Linked DNA regions of Homo sapiens: regions 1 and 2 are each linked to region 3. Evidence: promoter capture Hi-C in human tissues and cell types (Jung and others, 2019). All regions are on one chromosome and are shown on one strand. The core of a region is centred on a gene start or on the middle of the fragment in contact, and the rest is flanking DNA. Distances in the headings are between cores, read along the strand shown. Region 1 overlaps TPST1 (tyrosylprotein sulfotransferase 1). Region 2 overlaps TPST1 (tyrosylprotein sulfotransferase 1). Region 3 holds the start of ASL (argininosuccinate lyase).

Region 1 (3,739 bases), core at 27-2,526, 160 kb before region 3:
GCAACCAGACTACATGTACACCAAAATAATTTACCCTGAATCCTCAGAAGGCAAGTGTGACAGTTAATTTTATGTGTCAACTTGGCTAGACTTTGGTGTCCAGTTGTTTGATCAAACACCAATCTAGATATGTCTGTGAAGGTATATTTTAGATGTGATTAACACTTAAATCAACAGATTTCTAGTAAAGTGGATTACCCTCCATAATACAGGAAGGCCTCATCTAACAGGTAAAGGCTTTAAGAGCAAAGACTGAGGTTTCCTGGAAAAGAACTACAACATAGAAACCCTGCCTGTGTGTCCAGCCTGCTACCGAGCAGAATCTGGAGTTAAGACTGTGGCAGGCCAGGTCTCACTAACGCAGGCCTCCATAACAACTGTTTCAGTACTGACTGAGTGGTTAAGTTAAATATTAAAAGCTAAAAAAAAAAAAAAAAAAGCCAGTGCTGTTATACAAAGGCTGGAATGTAACAAAAGCGCACCAAGAGTTTTGCCCAGGCCTTTCCTGGGCCTTAAAGCATGACAAAATAACGAAGGAATTCTTAACAGGACCCATTTAGGATTAAACAAGTTTTATTAGGGGTCTGAAGAAACTCCCCAGGCCTCCACAAACAAGTTTATTGGAGGTCTGAAGGAACTCTCCAAATCTCCGTGATTTAGCAGGAGATAAGATAAGGGTAATCACCCCAGAACCTAGACCCACTTAGATGAAGTAAACTTACTGAGGCTCCAGAAGAAGGGCTTCAGGACTCAGACTTTAGTTACAGATTAAAAGAAGTTAATCACTTACATCTTCAGATGAATGCACACTTACATGCAGACATATAGGTTAGAAGGTACATAAGCTCAGAAAAACTTTGTAATTTTAAGTCGGTCTGGTGATAATTTCCAGGCCTCCCTGTAACAGTTACAGAAATAAAAACTCTCTTCCTCCCCAGTTCATCTGCATCTCGTTATTGGGCCACAAGAAACAGCAACCCGACCCTCAGTTTGGTCCGGGAACAAGACTGCAACATCAACTCATCTCTGCCCAACTGCCCTGTGAATTTCAGACTTGAAAGCCCCACAATCGCATAAGTGAATTCCTTAAAATCAGTCTCTTTCTCTCCCTACCCCCGACCCCTCCCCATATACAGAGTGGGCATGCGCGTTACCCACCACTCTAAATTCAGTGAGATCCCTTCCAACCCACTAGCAAAGCAGCCAGTCCTAATGGTTTGCCTTACCCTGACTACTGGTTGTTTTTCTGTAAAACCCTAACACAGGGGTTTGGTTTTGTTTTTCTGGAGAACCCTAAGGATACAGTAAATATACCTGGGGAAATGACTAACTACACTAAAAAATACATTCTGAGAGGGAAGACTTCCAGCTACAGCCTAGTGAGAAGGTAGTTAATTCCTCTCCCCAAAAACCAATGATAAAGCTGGGTGAAATGGGCAAAACAACCCTTTCAGTGCTCTGGAAATCCACCAGAAGAATACAACAACCTGAGAAGCATTTATGCTTGAAAAACTGCTAAAAGGTGGGTAAGAACAATGAGGGTCTGTGTAAGGTTACTCCCACCTCATCTACTCATTCAGTAGGTACAGAGGTTCTGCAAGGCAGAGCAGGGCAAGGCAAACCATTAGGACTGACAGTTCACTGAGTTTGGAGTGGGGAAGAACGCACATGACCACCTGCACTGTCAGAGTAAGTGATGGAGCAGGTGGGAGGCGAGTGAGAGGGTGAACAGCTCTAGAAGGTGGAGGTTGCAGTCTGGGTGGGGCACATTTGTTGGCCAACCCAGAAGTGGCATGCAGGCACAGAGGAGACATGAAAGGACTGGGTGGAAAGTAAAAGACAGCAGATCTGAAAAAGCCTAAACTTTGTATGTGCTCCCTACCCACAGAGATCTACTGGCAGAGGACAAATGCCTTACTGGCTCAAGATGTCTGAGGCAACCACTGTCCAAGCACTGGGTGACCACTGATCACTAAGCTATGCAGACAGGAAGGCAACTCCTAGAAAGCCATGCTTAAAAATGAAAACAATTATAAAGTGTGTGCACACTTGTTTTTAAAAAAGCTTTATTGAAGTGTAATTTATATATAGTATGTGAACTTCCAAAACCTAAGACAGGTATCAGTTAATTTAGAAAGTCTATTTTGCCAAGGTTGGGGAACACGCCTGTGAAACAGCCTCAGGAAGTCCTGATGACCTGTGCCCAAGGTGGTTGAGATACAGCTTGGTTTTATACATTTTAGGGAGACATGAGACATCAATCAATATATGTAAGAAGTACATTGGTTCCGTTTGGAAAGGTGGGACAGCTCAAAGCAAAGGCAGTATATATACATTAAGTATATATACTTAAATAAAGTACATATACCTTACACTATATATACTTCATTAAAGTTGTTTAGATATAAACAATCCTAAAAGTGTGTGTGTGTATATACATATATATATGAGAGCAACATAAGCACACATTTAAATGACAAGGCAAATTTATAGAGACAGAGTGAAAAAGCAGGGATTTAAGTGCAAGCTTACATGAAGGAACTTTTTGCGGTGACTGAACTGTTCTAAAACTGAACTGTTGTCATAGTTGTACAACCCTATAAAATCTACTAAAAAATTATTGAATTACACCCTCATACTTGTGAAAGGAAAATAAATCTTGGGGCCCCCAAATCACTAAGCTAAAGGGAAAAGTCAAGCTGGGAACTGCTTATGGCAAACCTGCCTCCCATTCTATTCAAAGTCATCCCTCTGCTCACTGTCTGTCAAAGTATTTTTCTAGTAATGAATTCCTTTTTTTAAAAAAAAGCTGTATTGAAGTGTAATTTATATATATAGTATGTGAACCTCCAAAGTCTGAGACAGGTATCAGTCTCAGTCAGACAGATAGATGCATATATGATTGCCTCCTTTGGAAAGGCTAATCAGAAACTCAAAAGAATGCAACTGTGCGTCTCTCACCTATCAGTGACCTGGAAGCCCCTTCCCCGCTTCAAGTCTTCCTGCCTTTGCTTCGAGCTGTCCCACCTTTCCAAACGGAACCAATGTACTTCTTACATATATTGATTGATGTCTCATGTCTCCCTAAAATGTATAAAACCAAGCTGTATCTCAACTACCTTGGGCACACGTCATCAGGACTTCCTGAGGCTGCTTCACAGGCGTGTTCCCCAACCTTGGCAAAATAAACTTTCTAAACTAACTGATACCTGTCTCAGATTTTGGAAGTTCACATACTATATATATAAATTACACTTCAATACAGCTTTTTTTTAAAAAAGGAATTCATTACTAGAGAAGTACTTTGACAGTCTCAGTAGAATACACCAACTAAGAACTGGTTCTTATTTATTCATGTGTATACTCTTTTAATCATTCATTCAATATATGTTTGAGCACATAGTTTTGTGCCAGGCACTATATAAAGCTTCAACAAAGAATCACAAAGACTAGGTTGAGATTAAAATATCAGCTTAATAAGAAAAAACTGCAAAGAAAAAAGTATTAAGATAATTGGTGGCAATATAGCATTAAAATGTCTATGCAGGAGAATGGCGTGACGTGAACCCGGGAGGCGGAGCTTGCAGCGAGCCGAGTTCGCGCCATTGTACTCCAGTCTGGGCGACAGAGCAAGACTCTGTCTCAAAAAAAAAAAAAAAAAAATCTATGCAGAACATTGCATCCATTATGTTAAAAGACACACTTAAGATGATATCCTAATGTTCAATTCAAAAGGAGC
Region 2 (3,594 bases), core at 855-3,354, 210 kb before region 3:
TGGGACTACAGGCATGAGCCACCGTGCCCAGCCACGTGGTATGGTTAGAGAATAGCAAGTGAGGAGAGCTAAGAATGTATTGAAGCTACTAAGTTGGGAGGATGGAAGGGAGAAAAGAAACAAGTGTTTACTCAGTGTTGCACTTATCGGGTTCAAGAAACACATTCGTTCAACCCAAAGGATAGATCATTAAAATAAAATAGAAAATGAGAACAAGATACGATGCAGTCCCAATCTTCAAGGAGGTCACGGTCTGGTTGGGGAGCCACACAAACATTCCACATTGAAACTCTCAGAGTTGCCTCTTAGTCCCGCATCAGCTCTCTGGGCTTCACTTTTCCCTCTTTCCATGGGTTCTAGTTATTTAGCTTATGTTTTTCTAAGAGGCAGCAAAGTGTAGTGGAGAGAACGCAGACCTGGAAGTCAGGTCTGTATGATCCAGTTTTGTAATCTAAGAAAAACTCTGATCCTAAGAGACTGAGGATAATGACCACTAACAGACGGAGACACAGTTTCCAAAACATTTTCAAAGCAGGAGTTGACAACTATTGCTCCAATCTGGCCTGCTGCCTGTTATGTAAATAAAGTTTTACTAGAACATAACCATGGCCATTTGTTCCTGTACTGCCTATGGCTGCTTTTGCTCTATAACAGAAGAGCTCAATGCTTACAACAGAAATCATATGGCCTGCAAAGCTAAAAATATCTGGCCCTTTACAGAAAAAGTTTGCCAACTTTTGTTCAAAAGGACACAGTGATTAGAGGGAAATGGGCCTGGAACTGAGAGCCTAATTTTCTTTTCTCGATAATAACCTGCAGACTGCAAGGAGCTCATTAAATCTCCCCTATTCCTTCAGTCCTTACAGAATTAACCAACACTTAGATCTAAAGCATACTACGGTATGAACTAGATACCATTCTACACCCCTTTAGCTTACTGAGACCTCAAAACATAGTGCCTCACAGACTGGTACATTTCAATACACACGGCCCATGCACACTGAGACAAGATATCTGTGACTCAGCAAGTTCTCCCCAGTCCCAACTGCCCAGGCTTCCTTCCGTCTGTGGCAGTCACAGTGGCGGCAACTCCTCCTCAAGGAATGGGGTCTATGCCAAAGTCTTGAATGACTGAGGTGAATACAATTCTCCACGACATTCATTTTAAGCATGGATCTTCCACGAGACTCAGTTAAACACTACAGCCAGGCTGACTGCCAAACCACAGGTCTGAATTATGATACCCAGCAACTACTACAAGAAACCAAATCCTCCATATTAAAGCATAGGGGATGGAACAGATATGCAAAAAGGAATGAGTGAAAGAGTACATAATCCAAGTGGTTAGGTTTATTACAGTAAAACATGTAATGAAATACCATTAAAAACCATGTTTTCAAAGACTTTCACTATTAGAAAATGCTCAGGTCATGTCTTGTGAAAGAAGATTTTAAAATGTATATACAATAGAAATTCAACTTTGTGAAAATGTGTTCTACAGACCAATAATGAGTTCCTAAATTGAATTAGTACTAAAAAACCTACCAACCAGAAAAAGCCCTAGACAGGAGGGATTCATAACCAAACTCTATCAGATGTATAAAGAAGACCTTGTACCAAACCTACTGAAACTATTCCCAAAAATTCAGGAAGAGGGACTCCTTGCCAACTTATTCTATGAGGTCAGCATCATTCTGACACCAAAACCTATCAGAGATACAACAAAAAAAGAAAACTTCAGGCCAATATCCCTGATGAACACAGATGCAAAAATCCTCAACAAAAATACTAGGAAACAGAGACTAGAAGCACATCAAAAGCTAATCCACCACAATCAAGTAGGCTTTATCCCTGGGATGCAAGGTGGGTTCAACATACACAAACCAATAAATGTGATTCATCACATAAACAGAACTAAAGACAAAAACTACATGATCATCTCGATAGACACAGAAAATGCTTTCAATAAAATTCAGCATCCCTTCATGTTAAAAACTCTCAACAAGCTAGGCATCGAAGGAACATACCTCAAAACAATAAGTGATATCTATGACAAACCCACAGCCAACATCCAGAACATGCTGAAATGTTCTGGAGGGCCCACAGATGTGGAAATTATGTATTTGTAAGAATTATATTAAACAATCTTTATTTGATAAATAGTACCTTACAATTCTAATGCTATCTATCAAACTTCAATAAGAGCAATTTCAGCATCAAGTAATGAACAATAGCTAAACTAACAAGAAATCAATCAAAAGTGCTTTAAAGGGAGCAGCACCAGTTGATGTGCTGCTGGAAGCATACCATACTGGAAGTATTCCCATTGAGAACCAGAATAAGACCAGGATGCCCTCTCTCACCACTCCTACTCAACACAGTACTGGAAGTCCTAGATAGAGTAGTAAGAAAAATAAAGGCATCCAGGAAGAGTGGAAGTCAACTATCTTCCATATTTGCAGACGATATGACTTTATACCTAGAAAACCCCACAGTCTCTGCCCAAAAGCTTCTAGATCTGATAAACAACTTCAGTAAAGTTTCAGGATACAAAATCATTGTACAAAAATAGCATTTCCATACACCAACAATATCCGAGCTGAGAGCTAAATCAAAAACACAATCCCATTCACAATAGCCACGAAAACTTGAACCATGTGTGTCAGACCCATGACCTACAAGAAGATGGCCCAAGATCTGGCCCAGGAATTGGAGAAAGACGCTTCCAATGCTTAGAGGAAGGTCCTCTTCTATGAGAAAACAGCCCAAGAATGCTGGGTGGCTTCCACGTCCACTGTGCGAGTGCTCTAGGTGCTCTGGAAAGAAAATGACCACAATAGGCAGAAGCCAGCTGACTGTGAGGTCAAGTTTCAGCCTTTCCCAAGCTGTCCTTTGGTGCCAGGATTTCCGTCTGCAGCCCACAAGGGCCGAGAAATGCCAGGGGGACTGTGGGCCACCACACCCCCAGGAGGGAGGCAGGTCACGATGTGAAGGCTTAGGTCCAGAGCACCTGCTGGTTTGATTCCGTTTTCCCCATAGGAGAGTCCTGAATGCCCAGAGCCTTAGCAGCACATCAGCTGGTGCTGCTCCATTTAAAGCCCTTTTGATTGATCTCTTGTCAGTTTAGCTACTGTTCATTACTTGATGCTGAAATTGCTCTTACTGAAGCTTGATAGATAGCATTAGGATTGTAAGGTACTATTTATCAAATAAAGATTGTTTAATATAATTCTTACAAATACATTATTTCCACATCTCTGGGCCCTCTAGAATTATACAGAATAAGTATTGTATTTTCATTTAGAGAAAAGGCCCCTCTTACCCCAACATCATTGTGTTTCATATGGATAGGAAAGTTTAAAACAAAGACCGTTTCTGATCTATGAGCTGTTATTAGAAAATAGTAGAGTAAATTGGCCAGAATAAGCTTTAGTTTTAAAACAAAACAAAACAAAGAAAAGAGTATGCTTATATCTGCTGGTGGGAATGTAAATTAGTTTAGCCACTGTGGACAGCAGTTCGAAGATTTCTCAAAGAACTCAGAACTACCATTAGACCCAGTAACCCCCTTACTGGATATATACCCACAGGAAT
Region 3 (3,441 bases), core at 639-3,138:
CCCAGGCTGGAGTGCAGTGGTGCGATCTCAGCTCACTGCAACCTCCGCCTCCCGAGTTCAAGCGATTCTCCTGCCTCAGCCTCCCGAATAGCTGGGACTACAGGCACCCACCACTACACCCAGCTAATTTTTGCATTTTTAGTAGAGACGGGGTTTCACCATGTTGGCCAGGCTGGTCTCAAACTCCTGACCTCAGGTGATCTGCCCACCTCGACCTCCCAAAGTGCTGGGATTACAGGTGTGAGCCACCATGCCTGCCAGGTTTTTTTATTTTTATTTTTTTGAAACTGGATCTCACTCTGTTGCCTGGGCTGGAGTGCAGTGGTGAGATCATGCTCACTGCAGTCTCAAACTCCTGGGCTCAAGCAATCCTCATGCCTCCGCCTCCTGTGAGACTACAGGTGTACGCCACCACACCTGGGTAATTTTCAAAATCTTTTTGTAGAGACAGGGTCTCATTACATTGCCCTGGCTGGTCTGGAATTCCTGGGCTTCAGCAGTCCTCCCGCCTCGGCCTCCCAAAGTAGAAATATCAGTATTGTTGTGGTTAGCCACCATTTATTGAGCACCTACTGTTGCTCAGCCCTGTGCTAGGGATTTCACATATGTTATTACGGCCTTTTATGAGGTGGGCAATATTACCCCTATTTCACAAATGAGGAAAGAGGTTTAAAGGGCTCAAGTGACTGGTACAGAAACCAAGTCTGTTTGGCTCCAAAGTCCAGGCCCTACCCCCCTGCCATGACCCAGAAGCTTGCAGGGCACTGAGCTTGCAGGGCATTGAGAAAGAGGAAGTGAATTGCTAGCTAATGAAGGCCAAAAGGGCCTGGAACCCAGACCTCCTGCTTCCCGGAGTTCCCTTCATCAAGCATCAGGCGAACAGCCCCTCTCACCTGAAGGGTCCAAAGCAATGGCCTCATAATCTAGTGCCTTACAGAGTGAGGCCGACAGCTATTATTACCCCCATTGCCAGATAAATCAACTATGGCCCAAGGAAGGAAAACCTCTGCCTGGGAATCCAGCATCTCAGTGGTCAGGAGGAGAGGCCAGGAGCCACTGACCCTAAGAGGCAGGGTCCAGTGAGACAGGAAGGGACCAGGCACCAGGGTTGCTGGAGCCACGAGGCGACGTCCCCTTTTTCCTGGCTCTTTCCACATGCCACAGTCAAGGACAAGAACACTTAGGGGCTGAGCTTTATTCTATAAACAGGGACAATTGCTCTAGCAGGAGAAGGGATGTGGTGTGGGGTGGGACCTGACAGGAGGACACGTGGTAAGAAGGAAGGAAGAGTTGGAAGGCTGAAGGCTTGGGAGCCACTTTTCCTGGCCAGGCAGGCATCACTGTGAGGTGAGGGCAGAGCCACTCTACCCCTAGTAGTGTGGGTTGGTGGGTTTGCCACAAGGGCTGCCTGCGGATACTGGTGAGTCCTGGTAAAGGTGACTGCTGGGCTCCAGATGATGCGCCCGGGAGGGCTGGGGGTGCAGGCTTCCTAGGTAATTTTCAAAATTGCTTCCTGGAGGGCGATTCCCAGCAGGGTGGCCCGAGGCAGGTCTGGCGCCCCCACTCTCTCCTTTGGAGGCTAGGAGGACCGGAGTCCCCGAGGTCCCACTCACCTCCGAGGCCATGTTGGGCGGTTCCTCGTCGTCCGGAAGCTTCGGTCCTCCGGGTCTGGAAGACAAGACCGGACTGACGACCTCCTTGGCCAGCAGGGTCCCCCGGGCCGGGCTGGCTCCGAGTTCTGGGCACTGCGCTTGAGGGAGCGCAGCCCTTGGGGACGCGGACGTGAGCGCGCGCCACGGTGCTCGGCGTCCTCCACGCCCGTCCCGCCCATCCGGCCGCCGCGCACTCACCTCCGCCTGGCCGCACGGATAGTGTCGCGCCCGCCACTGGCCAGGGCTTTTCTGGCCGGGATGGCGTCAGCAGCCGCCGGTCCTGTCCCCACCCCTGGCGACGGCCGCGCCAATAGGAGGCCGCCCGGCGGGGTGGGCGTTGCCTCCATCCTCCAATCCTGGCCGTGGGCGGGGATACCTCCCGCTGAGCTGGAGGCTAAGCGGCCCCGGGGCGGGGAAGCGGGCGGGGAAAGGGTTGGGGGGACCCCGACGGGGAAGGGGCCTGGGCTGGGGTTGAGGAGGGTAGTGCGCTGGCGTTCGTGCTGTGGTCAGCAGACACGCAGGGGACTGGAGACTCGGGCCAGGGGTAGAGGCTATGACATCAGGCCCGGGCCTGGCAGGTTCACAAGATATATAAGGTGAAATGGCATGTTCGCTCATTCACTCATTCATTCATTCATTCAACAAACACGTACCAGGCACCTCTATGTGCCAGGTACAGAGAAAGGCATCAAGGAAAAAGGAAGGACCATCAGAAATGAAGCCTGTGCCAGGCGCGGTGGCTCACAGCTGTAATCCCAGCACTTTGGGAGGCCGAGGTGGGAGGATCGCTTGAGGCTACGAGTTGGAGACCAGCCTGGGCAATACAACAAGATCCCGTCTCTACAAAAAAATTAATAATAATAAAAAAAAAGCCGGGCGTGGTGGTGCACGCCTGCAGTCCTAGCTACTCAGGAGGCTGAGGCGGGAGGAGCACTTGAGCCCAGGAGTTCGAAGCTGCAGTGAGCTATTGTGCCACGGCACTCCAGCCTGACTCCTCTAAAAAAGAAAAGAAACGCGGCCGGAGGCCGGGCGCGGTGGCTCACGCCTGTAATCCCAGCACTTTGGAAGGCCGAGGCGGGTGGATCACGAGGTCAGGAGTTTGAGACCAGCCTGGCCAAGGTGGTGAAACCCCGTCTCTACTAAGAATACAAAAATTAGCCGGGCACGGTGGCGGGTGCCTGCAATCCCAGCGACTCCGGAGGCTGAGGCAGGAGAATCTCTTGAACCCGGGAGGCGGAGATTGCAGTGAGCTGAGATGGTGCCATTGCACTCCAGCCTGGGTGACAGAGCAAGATTCTGTCTCAAAAAAAAAAAAAAAAAAAAAAAGAAAGAAAGAAAGAAAGAAAGAAAAGAAAAGAAAAAAGAAACGCAGCCGGGCACAGTGGCTTACGCCTTTAATCCCAGCACTTTGAGAGGCTGAGGCGGGCGGATCACCTGAGGTCAGGAATTCGAGATGAGCCTGGCTGACATGGTGAAACCTTGTCTCTATTAGCCGGGTGTGGTGGTGGGTGCCTGTAGTCCCAGCTACTCCGACAGCTGAGGCAGGAGAATCACTTGAACCAGGGAGGTGGAGGCTGCAGTGAGCTGAGACGGCACCACTGCACTGCAGCCTGGGCGACAGTGAGACTCTTGTCTCGAAAAAAAAAAAAAAAAAAGAAAGAAAGAAAGAAAAAGAAAAAGAGAAGAGAAAACAAAGAAAGAAACGAAACAAAAGAAATGAAGCCTGACTTCAAGAAGTTCCAACATAGCATGGAGGAGGTGTGCAGGGAGCACAGGCGTTGGGGAGGGG

What was found. The method cuts DNA at HindIII sites, captures the fragments that hold promoters and counts their contacts. A contact is called where the count stands out against the background at its distance.
Region 1: a fragment that was not itself captured here is called in contact with the fragment with the promoter of ASL in region 3 in 1 of the 25 tissues and cell types used here (mesenchymal stem cells).
Region 2: a contact is called between a fragment that was not itself captured here and the fragment with the promoter of ASL in region 3, in 2 of the 25 tissues and cell types used here (adrenal gland and mesenchymal stem cells).

The regions. Positions count from the first base shown.
Region 1 is chr7:66,235,109-66,238,847 of GRCh38, reverse strand. The region is part of intron 1 of TPST1 (tyrosylprotein sulfotransferase 1); the gene reads right to left. Among named protein-coding and RNA genes, the nearest start is that of TPST1, 32 kb to the right of the region's middle. RefSeq lists a silencer at 3,500-3,700. The HindIII fragment of the contact is 3,403 bases long and covers 1-2,977 here.
Region 2 is chr7:66,279,426-66,283,019 of GRCh38, reverse strand. All of the region lies in intron 2 of TPST1 (tyrosylprotein sulfotransferase 1), which reads right to left. Among named protein-coding and RNA genes, the nearest start is that of TPST1, 76 kb to the right of the region's middle. The HindIII fragment of the contact is 5,313 bases long and covers 1-3,594 here.
Region 3 is chr7:66,074,266-66,077,706 of GRCh38, reverse strand. It overlaps ASL (argininosuccinate lyase), which reads right to left and starts at 1,888. Exons shown (of 17, transcript NM_000048.4): 1 at 1,851-1,888; 2 at 1,614-1,668. The coding sequence starts at 1,625. RefSeq lists an enhancer at 1,338-1,617 and a silencer at 1,718-2,247. The HindIII fragment of the contact is 4,995 bases long and covers 1,204-3,441 here.